2 separate regions of the Homo sapiens genome follow, and region 2 is linked to region 1. The links are contacts of gene promoters, found by promoter capture Hi-C in blood cells and fetal thymus (Javierre and others, 2016). All regions are on one chromosome and are shown on one strand. Each heading gives the region's core, a stretch centred on a gene start or on the middle of the fragment in contact. The rest is flanking DNA. Distances are from core to core; before and after follow the strand shown. Region 1 holds the start of STRADA (STE20 related adaptor alpha). Region 2 overlaps TANC2 (tetratricopeptide repeat, ankyrin repeat and coiled-coil containing 2).

Region 1 (5,660 bases), core at 825-3,324:
TATATATTATGTATACATATTGATACATTATATATTTATGTATATATGTACATATATACATATAATGTACATAATTATATGTATATACATATAATGTACATAATTATATGTATATACATATAATGTACATAATTATATGGCCCGGGACGGCTGCTCCGACGAAGGCCCGGGCCTGGGGAGATGGAATCGGTGGCAGAGCGAGGAGTGACTGGCTCCGGCAGTGCACCAGGCACCCCGCCAGGCAGGTACCTGTTCCTGGTTTCAAACTCCGGAGCTCAAGCAATCCTACTGCCTCAGTCTCTCAAAGTGCTGGGATTACAGAGGTGGGCCACGGTACCCAGCCTATCAGAAACATTTAACACTATATATATATATATATATATACATACATACATATATATATACACATACATATATATATATACACACACACACACACACACACACACACACACACACAACAAAGCAATATTACTAGTGGACAGACATAGAAATAGCTTTATTGGCCGGGCGCGGTGGCTCACGCCTGTAATCCCAGCACTTTGGGAGGTCGAGGCTGGTGGATCACCTGAGGTCAGGACCTCAGAGATCGGCCTGACCAACATGGTGAAACCCCGTCTCTACTGAAAATACAAAAATTAACCAGGTGTGGTGGGGGGTGCCTGTAATGCCAGCTACTCGGAAGGCTGAGGCAGGATAACTGCTTGTACCAAGGAGGCCGAGGTTGCAGTGAGCGGAGATCGCGCCATTGCATTCCAGCCTGGGGGACGAGGGCGAAACTCCATCTCAAAAAAATTAAAATAAAAATAAAGAGAGAAAATAATAAACCCAGCAAACATTTATGGCAAACTTCCTACGTGTCAGGCACTGTGCTAAATGCTTCATGAGCAGCTCACAAGTATTATCATCTCTGTTTTACGGATCAGGAAATTCAGGTGTGCAGGGAGGTTAAATGCCCAAAGTCACACAGATAAGTGGTAGGGGACTAATTAAATCTGTTCCAAAGCCTGCGCTCTAAAAACCAGAGTAAACTTCCTCCATTTCTGGGGCCACAACTATAAACACTGCATTCCAGCCAAAACACCTCTAAGAAATCTGATTAAAAAGTAGGGGACAGATTTGACCAGTTCAGCACTGTAACTAAAGGCTGAATTCACAGGCTTTTGGCAGGTGATCAAATTTGGTTTCTTCCTTAACTCTCAGGGACAAGAAACAGTCCTGGGTGTCTTCAGGAAGGTATGAGTGTCAATGAAGAATTGTCTTAACGTCGCATATACGTATTGGAACATGCTTCTACTTGAACAGATATTACAATAAGAAAAGGGCAAATTCCAACGGCTCTTTCTCCGGGAAAGTCAAGTTAAAGTATGTTAGGATACAGGAGAAGGCTGGGCAGAGAGGTTAGTTCCCTATTTCCTGAGAACTATGAACAATTTTACCTACCCACTGCCCCTCCCTCGAGCTCTCTTCCTTATCCCCAACCCCCATCTCCGGCGCCCAAATCCCCTGCAGGCACCCAAAAAACATTTCTGGAAAACAAAAAGACAATGAGCTCTTCGTTTAGGCCGATTCTGGGAGTCATCTGGATCTTGTGTCCTTACGAGGACTTGACCCGCTGCCTGTCAGCCCAAAGTGCGCGGCGGCTGGGGACAGCGGGGAGCCCAGGACCGGGGTCGGCCGCCACTCTGCCTGAACAGGACAAACCGGCACCCAGCCCTAGGTTCCCCACCTGGAAGTCCTAGGGGGTGGGGAGGAAGGGGAAAGCAGGAGCCCGCCTCTCTCGCCCGGCAACTCCGCTTCAGCGTCTCCCCGCCAGGCCCAAGCCTATTCTGCTCTCGGGCTGCGGCGCCTCATTGCGGGAGTCGAGGACGCGGGTTAAAAAGGGGGCCCGTGGAGGGTGAGGTGAGCCCAGGATGGCCGCTCCGACGAAGGCCCGGGCCTGGGGAGATGGAATCGGTGGCAGAGCCAGGAGGGACTGGCCCCGGCAGCGTACCAGGCACCCCGCCAGGCAGGTACCTGTTCCTGGAGTTAGCAAGCAGCCCCGACCGTCTTGGCTCCGCCTCCTCAGTTTTACTGCCGCGCCGCCGCCAGACCGGTTGCTGGGAGGGGAGTACGCAACGTGCCATGCGCAGTGGGGCGACCGGGAGGACTGATAGAGCGCTCCGCCCCACCCCGCCCTGCGGGGAAGTCCCGCCCTTTCCGAGTGGCCGCGGCTGCGGCAGGCCCTAGCAGCCGCCGCCGCGCCGAGAGCGGTTCTCAGTTCCCGTTGTCTTTCCCGCCGCGCAGCGCTTCCGCCTACAGCCTCCGCCCCCGCAGCAGGAGGGGGAAGCAGGTGGCTTCAACAATGAAGGACCAGAGAAAGGCAAACTTGGCTGTTCCTGAGAATTGTGTTTTTCTCATTTCATGTGGTAGGACTTCTAATGGAAAACCCGCCTCGCACTTTTCTTGGACGACATCTCAAATGCCCCTCACTTTGGCCTCTCGGGCACCAGACAACAAGCTGCAAAGGGGAAGCCCATCCTTTCTTTGCTCCCCACTATTTGTAAAACAAGGAAAATAGCTCAACTAATGAAAACGATCTTGTCCCCTCAGTATCTTTTTTTTTCCCCCGAAGCCTTCCTCATCCACAGCTGAAGCCGTTTGTGGAAACCTATCAGGTTTGTCCAAGCCAGGTTATGCAGAGCTTGAGAAATGAGGAAGCGATGAACTAAGCCTCACTCCTGTGAGACTAGGTTTTTCAGTGACTTATCCCCCGCGTGCGCAGGAGGGGGTATCCAAAACGCGGATATATACCATCAGGTAATGAACACTCGCTCTTGCCAGCTCTGAGCTTTGACACAGATTTAGACCGTCCTAACTTCCAAGACTGGGGGAGGAGTTTAGCTACATCCAAGTAGGGACTTATAGAAATATGCCCCTGGAAGGCCGGGCGCGGTGGCTCACGCCTGTAATCCCAGCACTTTGGGAGGCCGACGCGGGTGGTTCACTAGGTCAGGAGATCGAGACCATCCTGGTTAATACGGCGAAACCCCGTCTCTACTAAAAGTACAAAAAAATTAGCCGGGCGTGGTGACAGGCGCCCGTAATCCCAGCTACTATGGAGGCTGAGGCAGCAGAATGGCCTGAACCCGGGAGGCGGAGCTTGCAGTGTGCAGAGATCGCGTCACTGCACTTCCAGCCTGGGCGACAGAGCGAGACTCCGTCTCAAAAAAAAAAAAAAAAAAAAAGAAAAAAAGAAATATGCCCCTGAAACTGTGGGACCTGTATGCACATGAGTTCTCATTTGATCTTACATACATCACTTTGATTTTTTTTTTTTTTTTTTTTGAGATGGAGTCTTGCTCTGTTGCCCAGGCTGGAATGCAGTGACGTGATCTGGGCTCACTGCAACCTCTGCCTCCTGGGCTCAAGCAATTCTCCTGACTCAGCCTCCCAAGTCGCTGGGACTACAGGCGCACGCCACAACGCCTGGCTGATTTTTGTATTTTTAGTAGAGACGAGGTTTCACCATATTGGTCAGGCTGGTCTTAAAATCCTGACCTCAGGTGATCCACCAGCCTCGGCCTCCCAAAGTGCTGGGATTACAGGTGTGAGCCATCTGTGCTGGGCCACATCATTTTGATTTTATCGAGTGCTTTGACATTGCTAAGGGCTACCCTCACATGCTCTCATTCTCAAAATAAGATGCCACTCTCAGGAGCAAACTTGGTAAACTCACAAAGCAACAGAGTATAAACAGAGAAGTAAAATTTCTAGCAGTGTTCTACTGAAGGGTCTTTCACATGTGGTCTTTTGGAACCGAGTATTAGAGAGACTGTCTGAAAAGATGCTAAACTTCTTGCAGCCATTACAAATGGGTAGAGAAAACATATTGTCTCAGAACTGTTCTGTTTTAGCAGTCTGTAACAGAAGACACTCCTATGGGTATAACTCTTTTTTTTTTTTTTTTTTTGAGACGGAAGTCTTGCTCTATTGCCCAGGCTGGAGTGCAGTGGTGCAATCTTGGTTCACTGCAACCTCTGCCTCCTGGGTTCAAGCGATTCTCCTGCCTCAGCCTCCTGAGTAGCTAGGATTACAGGTTTGTGCCACCGCACCCGGTTAATTTTTGTATTTTTAGTAGAGACGGGGATTTGCCATATTGGCCAGGCTGGTCTTGAACTCCTGACCTCATGTGATCTGCCTGCCTCGGCCTCCCAAAGTGCTGGGATTACAGGCATGAGCCACCGCGCCCGGCCTCTTGTCTCTCTTACATCGTTTCACATCATTCAAAATGAGAGGAGGCAGGAATGGTAAGGAATGAGAACCTGGGATGATAAAGCACAGTGTTTCACCTCTTCCTGCCAAATCCACTGGATTCTTGTACAACACAATTCTAAACAATTCCTACTGAATTGCCAATTCCTACTGAATGGGTGGAATAAGAAATCAATGTTTTTCTTTGGTCTAAATTCCATCTAAAGAAAGGAGTTAGGGCCAGGCGCACTGGCTCACGCCTGTAATCCCAACACTTTGGGAGGCCGAGGTGGGTGGATCACGAGGTCAGGAGATCGAGACCATCCTGGCTAACACAGTGAAATCCCATCTCTACTAAAAATATAAAAAATTAGCAGGGCGTGGTAGCACACATCTGTAGTCCCAGCTACTCTGGAGGCTGAGGTAGGAGAATTGCTTGAACTTGGGAGATGGAGGTTGCAGTGAGCCGAAATTGCACCACTGCACTCCAGCCTGGGCAACACAGTGAGACTCCATCTCAAAAACAAAAAAAAGAGGAGTTTCACATCTGGTCTTTACAGGAAAAGGTTTGCTACTACTAAGGAAACAGAATCATAAGCTACTCCCCTCTTCCTCAAAAAATACCCTATCAATTTTTGCAGATAAAGAACTCTGAAAGGATCTGCTTGGTTTCCATTGGGAGAAAGAAAAGCAAAAGAGAGTAAAGCAAGAATGCATCACTTGGAGACCAGTCCTAGATGATGCCTTATACTTGCAAAGTGCTTAAACAGTTTACAAAACAATCTCACATATATATTTTCTCTTAGTGTTCAACTACCTGTGAAGCAGGCAGGGCAAATAATTACTATCCTCACTTCACATTAGGTTAATAACTTGCCGAAAGTCAAAGGATTAGTAATTAGTTCTGCTGGCACTAAAAGCCAGGTCTTTGTCTTACAGTCCAGTGCTTATTTTGGCATTGCTAAACATCCAGGCAATGCAAATGAGATTGGAGACTTAGTGGTTTTCCAGTTTGTGACACTAAACAACATCCTCCTCTCTTTGTCCTCGCATTCACAGGAGAGTTAATGGAGTCTTAAGAGGTGGAATGCAGGGAGGAGCCCATAAATAACATATGGGGCTCTAAAAATATAAAATGTTTTTAAAATGATTGAATGGTAATAACAAAAGGAATATTCAGATGAACTCTTTTGAAGGAAAAGCATTTCAGTGCTGACTTTTATCGAACAGAAAGAATTTTCCTCTGAGCTTATACTCTTGTAGGATAACTCCACAAAGTCAAGGCGGCACTCTGAGATTTTGTCAATCACTTTAATAGATGTCCATAGGTAGTTCATATGAATGCTTAAGTTACAAAATTAGCTGCCATGGTCCAAATGTATGGGACTTTAGGAAAGCTTTTCTTACTCAAAAGATAACTAAGACTA
Region 2 (5,660 bases), core at 2,247-4,746, 320 kb before region 1:
CCCCACCCCACCCCCCAGTCTCTGTTTCCAGGGGTTCTCAGGAATGACATGCCTGTGAGCGTGTTCCTCTAGGGAGAGCACAGACCTCAGTCACAGCTGGGGTCTTCTCTTGTTTTGTTTTATTTTTAATTTTAAGTGTTTCCTAAGTAAGGAACCAGTTAAAAAAAGGAACAGATCAGAGAAGCCTCTGTGAAATAGAAAGAAAACGATAATTAATGAGCACCTACTATGTGCCGGGAACTGTGCAGGGCTTTTAAATACTGTATCACACTTGATCCTACCCCCGGGGTAGGTATGGATGAGAAAATACACTATACACTTGGGGGTTATGAAGCTGGTCAGAGAATTGAACCCAGGTCTGTCTGACACCCCCTCTCCCTCTAGTCTCTGTAGTCAGTGCAGTTTCCTTTACAGACGTCATCCTCCCGGACTTTACAGGACACCTTCTCACCTGTCCCTTAGAAAGCCACAGTGTAGTGCATGTAGCAGGAAGGTGTGGGGCTCAGACCAGGGTCCACGTGAAATGTGGACATGTGTGCGTTTGCCTCCTACATGCATGGATAACTTCAGGAGCTTCACTGGAAAGGGTTGGTGTTTGGCTTCCGGGCTGAGAACTTTATTAGAAAGGCAAAAAGAGGGAAAATTAAAACTATTTTAATATTCTGGGCAGATAAAGTCCAGTGAGCAGTCGCAGCGCTACACAGGACAAAGGCAGAAGGAACTTTCAGTCCACAGGCCACGCGGCTTGAGCCATGTCAGGCACGTCTAGCGTCCCAGGCGTTCCATCCATGAATGTCAAAAAATGTACAAATAATTTGTTTTATTCCCAAGTTGTCTATTTTTTATATCTCATCAATGACTCATTTGCACACCTATTGTAATGACAGGATTTTGGAATGGCGGAGGAATTTGCTACTAAGGCCCTGGAGCTGAAACCGAAATCTTATGAAGCTTACTATGCGAGAGCAAGGGCAAAACGCAGCAGCAGGTGAGGAGAGAGAGAGAGGGTGAAAGCAAGAGGTCTCTTTTCTGAAAATTTGGCCAAGGCAGCGTCGGCCACCCTGGGGCATATGTACCCAAATACATCTCTGTCCTTGAGAACTGTCAGGGCCAAGCTTTGGGGATGGCTCCCATAGCACAGCCCTCAGCTCAAGATCAGCAAATCTGCTGGGCTGTGGAGGCCACGAATGTTTCACTTCGGGAGAAAAACACTTTTTCACTGGAGAATGGCAGCTTCTTCCAAGAAGCCTCTGCCGTATCTCAGGCATTTTTCAACCCCCAGAGCAGCTAGCACAAAGAGACAACGGCGACTTAAAGAAATCACTTAAGCAGAGCACCCCACCCCCGCTTTAGAGGGAAAGTAGGATGGTTCACTTAACATCACAGGTTCCTCTTCCTTCTCCCATAGGCGTTTGAGGAATCCCGGATTAGTTAGTCTTCCCTCTGGGGCTCTCCTCAAGTCTGGTGGCATCAGACCCCCTTCCACCTAAACCATCACCCACCACACACACACAGAGTCAAGAGGTCCTTGCTGCCAGGATGGAGAGGACCCTCTAAGAGAACACCATTCCACATTCCTTGTGCCCATCTGCTTTAGTTTGGCCACTGGGCAGAAAAGCTCCCAGAATAACCTAGAACCTGCCATCAGTGATCTTTGTGTAACTTGTCACTGTCTCTTATGCCTCCTGCCCTCCTCCTCCCCAGCTGCATGGGAAAGAACTGCTTCAGGTTCACTGCTATGGCCAGGGGCACATGGTCCCGAAAATCACACCCAGCTTGAGGCTAGTGATGGTGGTGGCAGTGATCGCACTCTTACCTAGCTGGGGCAACGAAGTCCTCACAGAAATCTGACTGAAATTCTCCTTCCCTCTGGGTAGTTCCTTTTTCACAAGGTCAGTTGCCCCTGTCAGGTGATATTAGTAGAGAAGATGGGAATGTCTCTGACAGTTCATTTCTTCATTTGTAAATTAGAGTCTCCTTGGAGTCAGCTCAGCTCCAGCCCCGAGTGACCTAGTCAGCAAGCCTAATGCCTGCCCCACTTTGATAGAGCAAATGGAGACACAGCAATTCTGAGAGATGAGGGTTAGAAAGGGCAGAGGACAGGGTTCTTGCCTAGAGTAGAACAGGCCTGAAATTTGGAGCTAAAATATTGAGAATATAAAGAAAAATTTCTGCTGGATCAGCAAGATTTTTAAATATGTAGTTTTTTTTGTTCCTAAGCTACTTGACAGTGACCCTGTAAATGACAACCCCACCCAACTCTCATACTGCCTGGTGTGTGTTTGGGCACCAAAACAACTTCCCGAAGGGCCTGGCTGGACTGACAAAATGGGGCATTTCTCCACTATTCCCAGAGAGGCCAGAAGGAAGATGGAGGCCGAATGGGTTAGGGAATCATTCGGACTCTTCCAGAATGAGTCTTCCTGTTTCCTTCCCTATAAATCCAACTAAACCGAAATACCCCAGACTCCCACAGACGCCACCACAGCTCTCTGAGATAGTGACCATGTTCTCAGCTCTTGGTGATTTCTCTGGATTCAGAATAACTCCAGTTCCTGTGTTCACATTTTGTCAAGCAGACAGTTCGCAGCAGCCTTAGAGGACCTGAACGAGGCCATCAAGCTGTGTCCCAACAACCGTGAGATCCAGAGACTTCTGCTGAGAGTGGAAGAAGAGTGTAGACAGATGCAGCAGCCACAGCAGCCACCGCCGCCACCGCAGCCTCAGCAGCAGTTGCCGGAAGAAGCAGAACCTGAGCCACAGCATGAAGACATATACTCTGTACAGGATATATTCGAGGAGGAGTACCTGGAACAGGATGTTGAAAATGTTTCCATTGGCCTCCAGACAGAGGCCCGGCCCAGCCAGGGGCTCCCGGTCATCCAGAGCCCACCCTCCTCTCCCCCGCATCGGGACTCAGCCTACATCTCCAGCTCACCTCTTGGCTCTCATCAGGTTTTTGACTTCCGGTCCAGTAGTTCTGTAGGCTCTCCCACTAGACAGACCTATCAGTCCACCTCACCTGCCCTTTCTCCAACTCATCAGAACTCACATTACAGGCCTAGCCCACCACACACTTCCCCGGCTCATCAGGGAGGATCTTACCGTTTCAGCCCCCCTCCTGTGGGAGGACAGGGCAAAGAATACCCAAGCCCTCCCCCTTCCCCTCTCCGGAGAGGCCCTCAGTATCGGGCCAGCCCTCCAGCTGAAAGTATGAGTGTCTATAGATCCCAGTCTGGTTCACCCGTGCGCTATCAGCAGGAAACAAGCGTCAGTCAGCTTCCTGGCAGACCCAAATCTCCATTATCCAAAATGGCCCAGCGGCCCTACCAGATGCCTCAGCTCCCTGTGGCAGTTCCCCAGCAAGGGCTCAGGCTACAGCCTGCCAAGGCCCAGATTGTGAGAAGTAACCAGCCCAGCCCAGCCGTCCATTCAAGCACCGTCATCCCCACAGGAGCCTATGGCCAAGTAGCCCATTCAATGGCCAGTAAATACCAGTCTTCACAAGGAGACATAGGAGTCAGCCAGAGCCGGTTGGTTTATCAAGGGTCAATTGGGGGAATCGTAGGGGATGGAAGGCCGGTGCAGCATGTCCAAGCCAGCCTGAGTGCAGGCGCCATCTGTCAGCATGGAGGATTGACCAAAGAGGATCTTCCACAGCGACCTTCCTCAGCATACCGAGGTGGCGTGAGATACAGCCAGACACCACAGATCGGACGCAGCCAGTCAGCATCCTATTACCCAGTCTGTCACTCAAAACTAGATCTGGAGCGCTCCTCCAGCCAACTAGGTTCCCCTGATGTGTCGCATTTAATCAGAAGACCTATCAGTGTCAACCCTAACGAAATCAAACCGCACCCGCCAACTCCCAGGCCGTTGCTGCATTCCCAAAGTGTAGGCCTTCGCTTCTCTCCATCTAGCAATAGTATCTCCTCCACCTCCAACCTAACTCCGACCTTCCGGCCATCTTCTTCCATCCAGCAAATGGAGATCCCACTGAAACCTGCATATGAGAGGTCATGTGACGAGCTGTCGCCAGTGTCTCCAACTCAAGGAGGTTACCCCAGTGAGCCCACCCGATCCAGGACCACACCATTCATGGGGATCATAGATAAAACAGCACGGACTCAGCAGTACCCCCACCTCCACCAGCAGAATCGGACCTGGGCAGTGTCATCTGTGGACACCGTCCTCAGTCCCACGTCTCCAGGCAACCTGCCTCAGCCTGAGTCCTTCAGTCCACCATCATCCATCAGCAACATTGCCTTTTATAACAAAACCAACAATGCACAGAATGGCCATTTGCTGGAGGACGATTATTACAGCCCCCATGGGATGCTGGCTAACGGGTCTCGTGGAGACCTCTTGGAGCGAGTCAGCCAGGCCTCCTCCTATCCCGACGTGAAGGTAGCTCGGACTCTACCTGTGGCTCAGGCATACCAGGACAACCTGTACAGGCAGCTGTCCCGAGACTCTCGGCAAGGGCAGACATCCCCTATCAAACCAAAGAGACCGTTCGTGGAGTCTAATGTTTAAAAGACGTTTTGTTGGAGTGAGACCCATATGTTTTCACTGCACATTTTCAGGCTTGGTTTCCACATTCGAGGTAGTTCTCTGGCTTAATTTCTCATGTAGTTTCTGTGTGGTGTTCAGAGGTGGCAGCCCACATGCTGAAATCCTTTGCATGCAGCCGACTGGGAAGCGGCCTCCCGGGAGCCAGGACTTCAGTTTCTCTTGTCTGTGCCCAGCCACATGCTCTCTCCCTCTCTTCAGATGCCAACGAGGAGATTTTCGTGCTGTGTGCTTTAACCCAGGGAGATCAGACACACTGGTCAGCTTTTTCCAGGAGACAATCGCTTTCACTGATGTTCTTGTTGTGTAATTGTCTTTTTCCTTTTTTAAAAAATAAGGTGTTCTTGTTCGTTTTCTTCTAGAAACTTTAGAAAGAGTGCGATGCCCCTTTGCCTTTGCATCCTTAGCCAGTGTCACCCACACAGCCAGCCGCAGCGCATTCTCATGCTGTGGCCCCTCCCCAGACCGCCAGCGCCCTGCAGCCACCAGGTCTGCAGTGTGCATTAGGATTATTGCTGGTCTTCCTAGGGGGTAAAAGGATCAGAGAGAGAAGAATTAAGTGCTAAATTGGAAGAAAACCCCAATATAATTATGTAAAATGTCACTACATTGATTTTCCAAGAGGCATTGTAGGAACATGTCAAAAACAGCCAGCCCTTTAAATATTGCAGTCAGCCAAGGAAATTAGATGAGAATTGTGGCTATTAAGAGAATTCACTGAGAGTTATTCTCTAGATTTTTAGCCGACAATTAACCACTAAAAGCTGCTGCTTTTCCAGGGTGGGGGAGGGAATGAATACATAGAAAAACAAAAAAGATTGTTCTGGATTCTCAGTGAAAGGCTATAGGAAGTCTGTTCTGGAGACATCTACTTTTTAGATCCTGATACATCACTGAGTGTCATACTCCACTAAAAGGAAACTCTAACCGAAGGCTGGCTGGTGTGACAATCCCGTTAGTTGGATCTTCACCTACAGCCAGATTTTGTTCTAGTGGCCCTCTTCCTGTAAACCCAGATGGTGTCATACAGAAATTGTTTCTTTCAGAAGCAGATTGGAATCTCTTGGGACCATGAGACTGAGTCCCAA

The links. Contacts are between HindIII fragments. The CHiCAGO score rates a contact against its expected background, and 5 or more counts as called.
Region 2: a contact is called between a fragment that was not itself captured here and the fragment with the promoter of STRADA in region 1, in 1 of 17 cell types (naive CD4 T cells). The highest score is 5.0, in naive CD4 T cells.

The regions. Positions count from the first base shown.
Region 1 is chr17:63,739,725-63,745,384 of GRCh38, forward strand. It overlaps STRADA (STE20 related adaptor alpha), which reads right to left and starts at 2,075. Exons shown (of 13, transcript NM_001003787.4): 1 at 2,017-2,075. It overlaps CCDC47 (coiled-coil domain containing 47), which reads right to left. Exons shown (of 13, transcript NM_020198.3): 13 at 5,531-5,660. RefSeq lists an enhancer at 201-700 and silencers at 566-734, 2,238-2,357. The HindIII fragment of the contact is 6,891 bases long and covers 1-5,628 here.
Region 2 is chr17:63,417,420-63,423,079 of GRCh38, forward strand. TANC2 (tetratricopeptide repeat, ankyrin repeat and coiled-coil containing 2) reads left to right here. Exons shown (of 28, transcript NM_001394998.1): 27 at 888-988; 28 at 2,580-5,660. The coding sequence ends at 4,536. Among named protein-coding and RNA genes, the nearest start is that of CYB561, 26 kb to the right of the region's middle. The HindIII fragment of the contact is 4,766 bases long and covers 1,114-5,660 here.